Linked DNA regions of Homo sapiens: regions 2 and 3 are each linked to region 1. Evidence: promoter capture Hi-C in 16 types of primary human blood cells and fetal thymus (Javierre and others, 2016). All regions are on one chromosome and are shown on one strand. The core of a region is centred on a gene start or on the middle of the fragment in contact, and the rest is flanking DNA. Distances in the headings are between cores, read along the strand shown.

Evidence for each region. Contacts are between HindIII fragments. The CHiCAGO score rates a contact against its expected background, and 5 or more counts as called.
Region 2: a contact is called between a fragment that was not itself captured here and the fragment with the promoter of TOP2B in region 1, in 1 of 17 cell types (activated CD4 T cells). The highest score is 6.3, in activated CD4 T cells.
Region 3: a contact is called between a fragment that was not itself captured here and the fragment with the promoter of TOP2B in region 1, in 3 of 17 cell types (fetal thymus, total CD8 T cells and naive CD4 T cells). The highest score is 6.0, in fetal thymus.

The regions. Positions count from the first base shown.
Region 1 is chr3:25,663,657-25,666,605 of GRCh38, reverse strand. It overlaps TOP2B (DNA topoisomerase II beta), which reads left to right and starts at 1,699. Exons shown (of 36, transcript NM_001330700.2): 1 at 1,699-2,377. The coding sequence starts at 2,309. It overlaps MIR4442 (microRNA 4442), which reads left to right and starts at 1,667; the gene lies at 1,667-1,733. RefSeq lists enhancers at 1,399-1,962, 2,920-2,949 and silencers at 2,130-2,489, 2,444-2,632. The HindIII fragment of the contact is 4,216 bases long and covers 1,054-2,949 here.
Region 2 is chr3:28,242,971-28,246,126 of GRCh38, reverse strand. All of the region lies in intron 1 of CMC1 (C-X9-C motif containing 1), which reads right to left. Among named protein-coding and RNA genes, the nearest start is that of CMC1, 2.9 kb to the right of the region's middle. The HindIII fragment of the contact is 1,233 bases long and covers 1,130-2,362 here.
Region 3 is chr3:28,343,546-28,346,805 of GRCh38, reverse strand. The region is part of intron 1 of AZI2 (5-azacytidine induced 2); the gene reads left to right. Among named protein-coding and RNA genes, the nearest start is that of ZCWPW2, 3.5 kb to the left of the region's middle. The HindIII fragment of the contact is 728 bases long and covers 1,153-1,880 here.

The sequences.
Region 1 (2,949 bases), core at 450-2,949:
CAACAAAAACGGAAGATAAAGAGCTTTGACAACTTAAGTTTAAAAAAGGAGACAGCTATGTATTTTATAGCTTAGCTTCTACCTAGTACATCTTCATAAAAAAAACTCATTGCCTTTAAAATTACCCCTTTTCAAACAAAATACATGTGTACTTGGAGATGCAAACTCACAGTAAGAACACAAGATCATTTTAACAAGCACTAAACTGAGGCTCAGGGAAGTTAAATAACAAGGCTATGGATACTTGGTCAGGTTCAGAAAAGTTTGCACCCCAAGTTCAAGGTAAAGAAAGGCTTCACTGTTCTGAAGTCCCTAGTATGGCAAAGTTACATGGCCATCAGAGAGCTAATTAAAAAAACTATGTTTAAATTATTTCCATGTTTCAGAGTTCTCCACCTCTAGACTCAGAATGCAGTTTAAAGATGTGACCTGAGACATTTTTGTTTTCCCTTGAGAGGAAATGCACAGTTGGAAGTTCACAAAAACACCTCTTCAAAAAACAGTAATACTGTTTTCATCTTTATAAAAAGCTTTCATCACAACTCTTTGGTGGCACTTCATGCCTTCAAGTACTCATTTTGGTGATCGTTGGCTCCCTTTTAGTCTGTCTCACAAGCCAGGTTATAAATGGTTTGAAATCAGGGGCCTTGTTTTTACTTTGAACCCATCGCAGAGCCTGGCACAGCGTGGCAGAGTGTGCGCCCAATAAATACTTGAGTGGAATTACACTGAAAAACAGGAAGAAGTAAAGCCATCTTCCATCTGCCAAAGACTGTGATGTTGCTGTATTGGTAATTTTCATTCTTAGAAAGCTTTAATGTGAATGAAATTATTCCTTACTGTGCATTTGAAAATTCCACTGAAAACAGTTTTAAAAATTAAGCATGCCCTCTTAGAGGCAGGGGGCACAGTTCTGGACAGATGAGAAAAGTGACAGTGACATCTCTGCATTGTTCAGAGAAGAAAGGTCAACAAAGAGTAGAAATAGAACACTCAACCCACCCTGCATTCTTTCCCTAGAACATTCTCTGTGTGTCCCTTATCATTTAAGCTTTTCATATGTAGTTTTCTTGAAACTGACCATATGCTCTTTTGGGGTGAGGGGAGGAGACGGAAGAAGGAGATGGAGAAGGTCTGAGATGATTTTTTTCGACAGCAGCGTCCACTTAGGCCCTTGGGGAGGCCGGGTCACGGGGCCTCCTTGCACCAGTGGTCTACAACGTCTTGCCTGCGGTTTACAACCGCTCTTTTAAAATAATTTCCCTTTGGGACGGCCCCCGGCTTCTTCCTGCCACCCCCATCCCCACCCCGCCCCCATCCTCATCCTTAGAGGCCCCAGGCAAACGCTTCGGATTCCCGGTTAGGTCTCAGAGTAAACAGCACGCTTGGAGGATTACAATCGACCCGAGGCCAATTCGACCCTTTCCCTTTGCCGCCCTCAATTGACCCTTGAAGCAGCCCCTGCTCTCCCTTCAAATGGAAAACCCACAGACACACACACAAACAAAAACCCCAAGTCTTCCTTTCGGTTGCTACCCGCAATGACGTTTCCCCCCTCGGGTCCCGCCCCTCCAGGGGGCTTGGAATTTTGGGATTGGCCGAGAGGCTGTGGCGACAAGGCCCGGATTGGACAGCATGGCGCTGACTGACAGCGGGGGCGGCCGCCGCGCCCTCCCTCTCTCCCCGGTGTGCAAATGTGTGTGTGCGGTGTTATGCCGGACAAGAGGGAGGTGACCGTGGCGGCGGCGGCGGCGGCTCTGTTTATTGTCCCTCTCGGTGTGTGTGTGTGAGGAAATCGGGGCTGCAGCGAGGCTAAGGCTGCCTTTGAAGCAGCGGCGGCGACCGGGACGACTACTCTGGCGACTCGAGTGGCTGGCCTTCGCGGAGTGTGAGAAGGACAAGGCACCTCTGCGTCCTCGCCACGTCCGAGCGCCTCGGGCTCCCCGGCCGCCCTCGCGGCTCGCACGCCCGGGCTTCAGCCCGGCCTGCAGCGGCGCCCGCGGGCGGGCGAGAAGGCAACGCCGCCGCTCGGCCGCCGCCGGTCGCTCCCTGCTTTCTCCTCAGCCGCCGCGCTAGGCCCGGGCGACGCGGACGCCGCGCCTCGAGTTTGAGGGCAGCCGGCGGCGCGGCCTCCTCAGCGGGCTCGGCTGGACGTCCGCTCCGGATCTTCGCGATGGGGCGCGGGGGTCGGCGCGGCTAGGAGTGCGGCGAGTGGAGCGGTGGGTGCGGAGCGGCGGGGCCCAGCGGCCCGCAGGGAGGCGGGAGCGGCGGCTGCGGCCTCAGGGCCTGTGAGCTGGAGGCACTCGCCATGGCCAAGTCGGGTGGCTGCGGCGCGGGAGCCGGCGTGGGCGGCGGCAACGGGGCACTGACCTGGGTGGTAAGTGGCTGGTCCCCGGGACGGGCGGCTGCATTGTTCCGGGCCCGCGGCGGGGGCGGAATTCCGAACGGGCGGGGGAGGGGAAAGGGAGGGAAATCCCGTCCCCCGAACGGGCGCTCCATAGGGGCCTGTGCTTGCAGAATCCTCCAGCCCGCTCCCCGCGCCTTTTCTTTCTTTCTTTCTCTGTACGTCTCTGGAAGTCCTGACTGCCAGAGCGTAATGTGTACTTGAAACTTTGGGGGGACAAAACCGCGAACGTAACATACAGCCCCCGCTTCCTCTCTTTTCTTTTTAACCAGACTCTTCCGGGGCAGCCGAACCTGAAATGGTGGGGATGGCGATAATGCAAGTGTGTCTGTGTGGGGCAGCATTTTCTCCAAATGTAGTTCAAGAAAACCCTGGGAAAAGGGGTGTGTGTGTGTGTGTATTCTAAATGCAGCTCTTTCTGGGGCTTTAATCTCAAAGAAGAATGCATTGGGATTTCTACAGCAACTTGCACTTCAATTTGGAAAGCCTCATTCAATGCGCTCAATTGAGAGCGCATTGGGGATGACTTTCACAGCAGTTAATAC
Region 2 (3,156 bases), core at 497-2,996, 2.6 Mb before region 1:
AATAAAATCAAAATTTTTCTTATAGGCCAGGCAGGGTGGCTTATGCCTATAATCCCAGCACTTTGGGAGGCCGAGGTGGGCAGATTACTTGAGCCCAGGAGTTCAAGTGCTCCTGAGCAAGGAGTTCAAGTGCAGCCTAAGCGACATGGTGAAACCCCATCACTAAAAAAAATAAAAAATTTTTCTAATCAACTCCACAACCTTTTACATATTAAACATACAATGCTCAAAAAAGATTCTTCAAGTTTGTTTACATGTCTAACTTAAAATTTTCTAGTAAATGTAAGGGCTAGTACTGTTCCTGTACCCCTAAAGGTAATTTACCTACATTCCCACAGGAACCACTGAAAGAACCCCAACTTGGAGTACTGCAACCCAAATGTTCCAAGAACATCCATAATTAAATCTTCCCAAGACACATATACCTTAAACACCTTCTCATGGAATGTCATGAAATTCTTGAACCCACTTTCCACCCCCTAAGCCCTATCTCTGTCCCATCTTCCTCCTTTTATTAAGTTCCCGGAAAAAAACAGCAATAGAAGGACACAGGGACACACACACACCTGATTAAGGAAACTTCCCTTAGGCTGCCATGCCCCATTCTGCATAAGTAGAGAATGAATCTATGTTGACAGAGGGAAGAGAACCTAACTAAAAAGGGGAAAGGTCAAAGAAGGGAGAAAGGAATTACTTTAGTTGATAGAGAAAGTGAAAAATCAAATTTATCAGGTGCAGGTTCCTATGGGCCATCATCTGAGAATATAATCATGTCTGAAAATTTGTCCGGAACATGGCAATAAGCAAAGATTGCTGTTATTACTGCTACATTAACAAAAAAAAGGAAAATAATGTAAATAAAACTATGTATAAGCATGTAACCTGCATTTTTTCGCTGGGTTCACAGTTTCTTGAGGAAAACAGAGACCCTACAAAGTTAATTAAAAGTTGCTGCCAAATGAAAATCAAGCTTCTATAAAGATCACAGAAAATACAAAATAAACCAATAGGAAAACAGATTTTGCTAAATGAACCTCAATTGGTGTATCTATTATTCACTTACTCAATATGGGCAAATACCATCGTGGGCTGTACAAAGCAGTAAAACATCAAAATGTGAAACTAAGCTTCAACGTATGAACCAAATAAACACGAAATTAAAAAAAAAAAAAAACTGGCTTCCATACATTTTATTCTGGAATTTAAACAGACAAAACAATTTAGGGAAAAAAAAAAAAACCTTCCTACTTGCTGACTCCACTTTTTTACTCTCCATTGCTTCCATTCCTTCCTTTGATGAAGTTTCCAATAATCACATTGTTAGATTTGACCATGACCTTCCACCCAGCTGCTGACGTACAAAAACTGGAATTATCCCTATTTCCTCTTTTTTTTTTTTTTGAGACGAAGTCTCACTCTGTGGCCCAAGCTGGAGTGCAGTGGCGCAACCTCGGCTCACTGCAACCGCTGCCTTCCAGGCTCAAATTCTCATTCCTCAGCCTCCTGAGTAGCTGGGACTACAGGCGTGTGCCACCATGCCTGGCTAAATTTTTTGTATTTTAGTAGAGATGGATTTTCACCATGTTGCCCAGGGTGGTCTCAAACTCCTGAGCTCATGCGATCTGCCTGCCTCGGCCTCCCAAAGCACTGGGATTAAGGGCATGAGCCACGGTGCCCACTGTTTCCTCCCTTTCTCTCACCATCCTTATTCAATGCAACCACAGGTCCTGTCAATTTCTCCTCATGACGCTGTATATTTCTTTCCATCTGTCTATTACCATCTTGGGCTAAGATACAAACATATTTGGCCTGGACTACTGCTCCTATCCCTTAACCTGTCTCCCTTCTTCCACTTATGACCTGACCCCTCTACAATGCATGCTACCACTGTAGCGAGGATAATAAACACATAAATTATGTTACTGCCCTCTTTAAAAGATTCTAAAGGCATTTGATGCCATTAGAAAAAATCCAAATGCTTTATTATCACAGCCAGCCTTTGAGGACTTGCAGCCTCTGCAATATCTAGGCATTTAGTGACTACCTACTTTCCCAATATCTTTCCTTATGGATCCCCTCCACACTCTGACCCACGTTCAAGTTAAATATTTTAAGTATTTGCTACCTGATGGCCAAGCACACTCTGCCTAGCTTCCTCTCATCCCTCAGATTCCAATTCAAATGACACTTCCTCATAAAGCTCTTCACTGACTAATCTCTTCACCATCTACCACATGACATTATTTTCTTCATGTTTATCACAATCTGTAAAAATGTGTGTGTGTATGTGTGTGTGCCCACGCACGTGTCTGTGTAGGGGGAAAAGGGGGTGTTAATTGTTTTTTCTACCACTAGATAAGCTTTATTGGGAGCAGGAATTTTGTTTGTCCTATGTACTACTGTTCCCTAGGGTCCAGAACAATATGGGACATATACCAGACACTCAACAAGTCTTTGTTTAATCAATACTCAAAAGGTGGCATGGTCTACAGCACTGGACTGGAAATGAAATTACCTAGGTTCTAACCAGACTTGACTCTACCAGCAACTAGCTGTGTGGCCTTGGGTACAACACAAGATTGGAGTGGCTTATGAGTAACTGGAAGGTAAGCAAGTGAAGAGAGCAAGTATGAAGACTTTTTTCCCAAATTTCCTTGTCTAAATTCAAAAAGTGTAGATATATGGAAATCTTTAACCTCTCTCATTCTCAGTCTCCTCATCCGTATGAGATTACTTTAAAGGTCACTTCAAGTTCAGAAGTACCATAATTAGGCTGGGTGCGGTGGCTCACACCTGTAATCCCAGCACTTTGGGAGGCCAAGTCAGGCAGATCACTTGAGGTCAGGAGTTCCAGACCAGCATGGCGAACACGGCGAAACCTCATCTCTACTAAAAATACAAAAATTAGCCGGCCGTGGTGGCGGGCGCCCGTAATCCCAGCTACTCAGGAGGCTGCGGTGGGAGAATTGCTTGAACCCAGTAGGCGGAGGCTACAGTGAGCCGAGATAGCGCCACTGCACTCCAGCCTGGGCGACAGTGAGACTCCGTTTCAGTAAAATAAAAAAAAAAGATACCATAAATTATATGGGCCTAAACTTGAACCTTCCTTACTCACCCCTCACTTATACTCTACCCCTTCTACCCTCAAGAACCAAA
Region 3 (3,260 bases), core at 267-2,766, 2.7 Mb before region 1:
ATGACCCTTCTTTATAAACTAGTTAGGCTATTTTACAAATTGAGAAAGGGGAATAAGCATTGGTCTGTTCGTCTTCGTAAGACTTAATCCTTGCTCCATAGTATTTTGACTGATTGTACGAAATAGGTTCGGGAATATCCTAACTTTTCAGAGGTAGAAAGGTGGTGAAAATTCTAAATATGATTTACTTCAGGAGGCAATATGGAATAAAGAGCCTACCATATAGGCCTTGATTCAAACTTCAGTTTTGTCACATACTGCTGTGGTGAGGTGAATTTACCTCACCTCTTTGAGCCTCAATTTCCCCATTTATCATGGTGCTAATACCTTTCTTGCCAAGTTTGGTGTGGACTTGAGATAATGTGTGTACCATACCTTTTATGCAGTTCCTGGCATAAATGTGAATTCCCTTCTCTCTGTTTAGGTTGCCATTGTTCTGTATTTGTATTAAACTTTTGCCTTCACAGTTTAGTAAGGTGGCATCTTAGTGATGTAGTCTAACCCTATCATTCTGTATAGGTGGGAAAATTTTGATCTAGAGAGGTAAAGCGAACTAAACTATAATCAGGGTTGCAAATCCTAGACTAGAATCTGTGTTTCTGAATCCTGGGAAAGTGTTCTTTTTGACATAGTTATGCCTTGTCCATATTCTTAGGATAACCAGAATCCCTTTTGTATTGCCTCTTTGAATGTTGTATTAAGACCATAGACTTCTGACAGCTTACTTAGGTTCACATCTCACCTTTGCCACTGATTAGCTGTGTAGCTATAGGTAAGGTATTTAACTTTTCTAAGACTTTCTTCATAACAGTACTTAGCTAAGTGGTAGAAAAATGCATGTGAAAGCACTAGTGACTGGCATATGGTAAGTGATCAATAAATGGCAGATATAAAGATGATGAAATATGAAAATGGCAGATATAAAGATGATGAAATATGACAGGATAATCATATTTATTCCTAGAAAAAAGACCAGTCTGATATCAGCAGATATGTTTTCTAGTATCCCAAACTTTGACATACGTAGCATATGAACAACTGAGAGTTCTCTTGGTGTTGATTGCCATGATGAAGACTGAAATTTAAGATCTTCTAAAATAATTCTAATAAATAATGTTTGAATCTTTTTTTTCCTGTGTTTCTCCCCAAGCTTCAGGTAGTACTGTTCTTATTTCTACCTACTTTATCTGACAAATTGTGCCCTTTCTTTTTTATCATTCTTGGAAATTTCATTGTTCTCAAAAATAATTGTCAATAGTGTTTACCTCAATCTTTTCTAATTCGCTTTTTATATTTAAGTAAACCTCTAAGGAGAAACAAAATTTAATTGCCAAATATATAAAATGTTTGCATGAGTACATATAGATACATTTGCCTATAAATGTGCTTTATTTAACACCCCACTATATTGTGATGAGATGATGAATGTGAAATTACTTTCTATAATATTAAAAATAAAATCTAAAGGGTGTTTACTAATTCATAACATAGAACTAACTGTGCCCACAAATGTTCAAGGATACTAAGAATTGGAATTCTGTAAATTACGTGGTAACTGCTTGGCTTTGTTCTTTCTGATGAGTGGTTCTCAAATTGGAATATGACTTAAAATCACCTGGGTGCTTATTCAGAGTGCACTTTGCAGTTTTTCACCCCAGATATTCTGATTTGCATAGATCTGCAGTGGAAGCTAGGAATCAGTATTTTTTAACAGAATGCAGAGGAATTCTAAGGCAGTGGTCCACACCTTTGTCAAACACTGCCCTCAGTCATCTCCAGCTTCTTAGAATGCCCTTGGAAAAGCAAAATTTATTTATGGAATGTCCCTGTGGAATACATTTATTACTGATTTTCATCACTGAGAGAAGTCCACTTAAGCTTGTCTTTGGACAGTGTTTTGATGTTTGTTAAGTTTTGAAAGTTCAGTTTCTGCTAGACTATTTAAAATACTATCTAGTCTTTGGTAATTTTAATTTTTGATAACAATATTCTGCTCATGGCACTTATTTTTTAAAGATTAATGCTAACAAAGATTTATTATTTTAAGAGCATTTAAATTATGATAAATAAGACTCAGTATAATGTTAAGTTTCTTCAAATGTTAAATGATATAACTAGCTTGGTCTAGTTTGTCAAATAGAATAATAGCCAGTTACACTTTTACCATTTATCTAGAAAATCAGACTTCATGGGCCAGCTGATTTGGATACACACACACAGCCATTTCATTGCAACAAAAGTGTTTAAAACTGAATCTTTATTATGAGACTGATTACCACAGCTCCCTTTACTTCTCTGTAGAAATACATTTTATAAAGGATGCTTGCGTAGCAATAACACCAAAGGCAACACATAGCCTACTTTTTACTTTGCTAACAGTTTTCCTTTCATTATATTAATAAATATAATGGGATATCTGCCTTGTATTGTTTCCTTTCTATGATCTCATTTTCCCTGGACCTGTAGCTTTTACTCTCCAGAAGTCTGGTTTGTACAGACTAATATGATAAGTATTAATATTCTCATGCTTGTGATTTCATATTAATTTTTGCAGGGATAGTAATTAAAATTTTAATTTTCCATTTTATAACAAATTTAAATGACAGTTATTTTAAAACAATAAAAGTTGATACATATATGTGGTGCTAGCACATTGTGTGTTTTAATATATGGCTATTTCTTACATAACTTTTAGGACAGATAAGCAATTTGATGCTGCTTTTCCGCGTATTCTAAGTAATGTTTATAGTGTATAGAATAAATATATAGAATAATGGTATAAAACTTGAAAAATCCTTTTATGCCATTGTTTTCTTACATAATATATGCAACTTTTGATTTATAAATAAAAAGGTAGCATATCAATAGGTAAACCAGTCTGACTACTCATATTGTCTTAAAAATGACTAGCTATCATGTTGTATAAAATGTGACATTATTGTATCAATATACCCCCTTCCATGTAAAGTACTTTTGTAAGCCTTCTGAGGGGTTCCTAGATTTGTAGGAGTGTAAGATTTTGTAAAAGATTCATTGGAGAGGGGAAAATATTAATAGCTCAGGCTCTAAAATCCAAGTCCTGGTTCATACTAATTAAGTGATCCTAGCTAAGCTTCTTTACCTTTCCAGGTCCCAGTTTTCTCATCTGTGAGATGAGTTTGATAAGATTTTGTACCTCATAGGGTAGTCTTGAGAATTAAATGGGATAATGTTTGTAAACATTTAGCATAATGCTAAGTAGTTCACTGGTTGTGAATTAA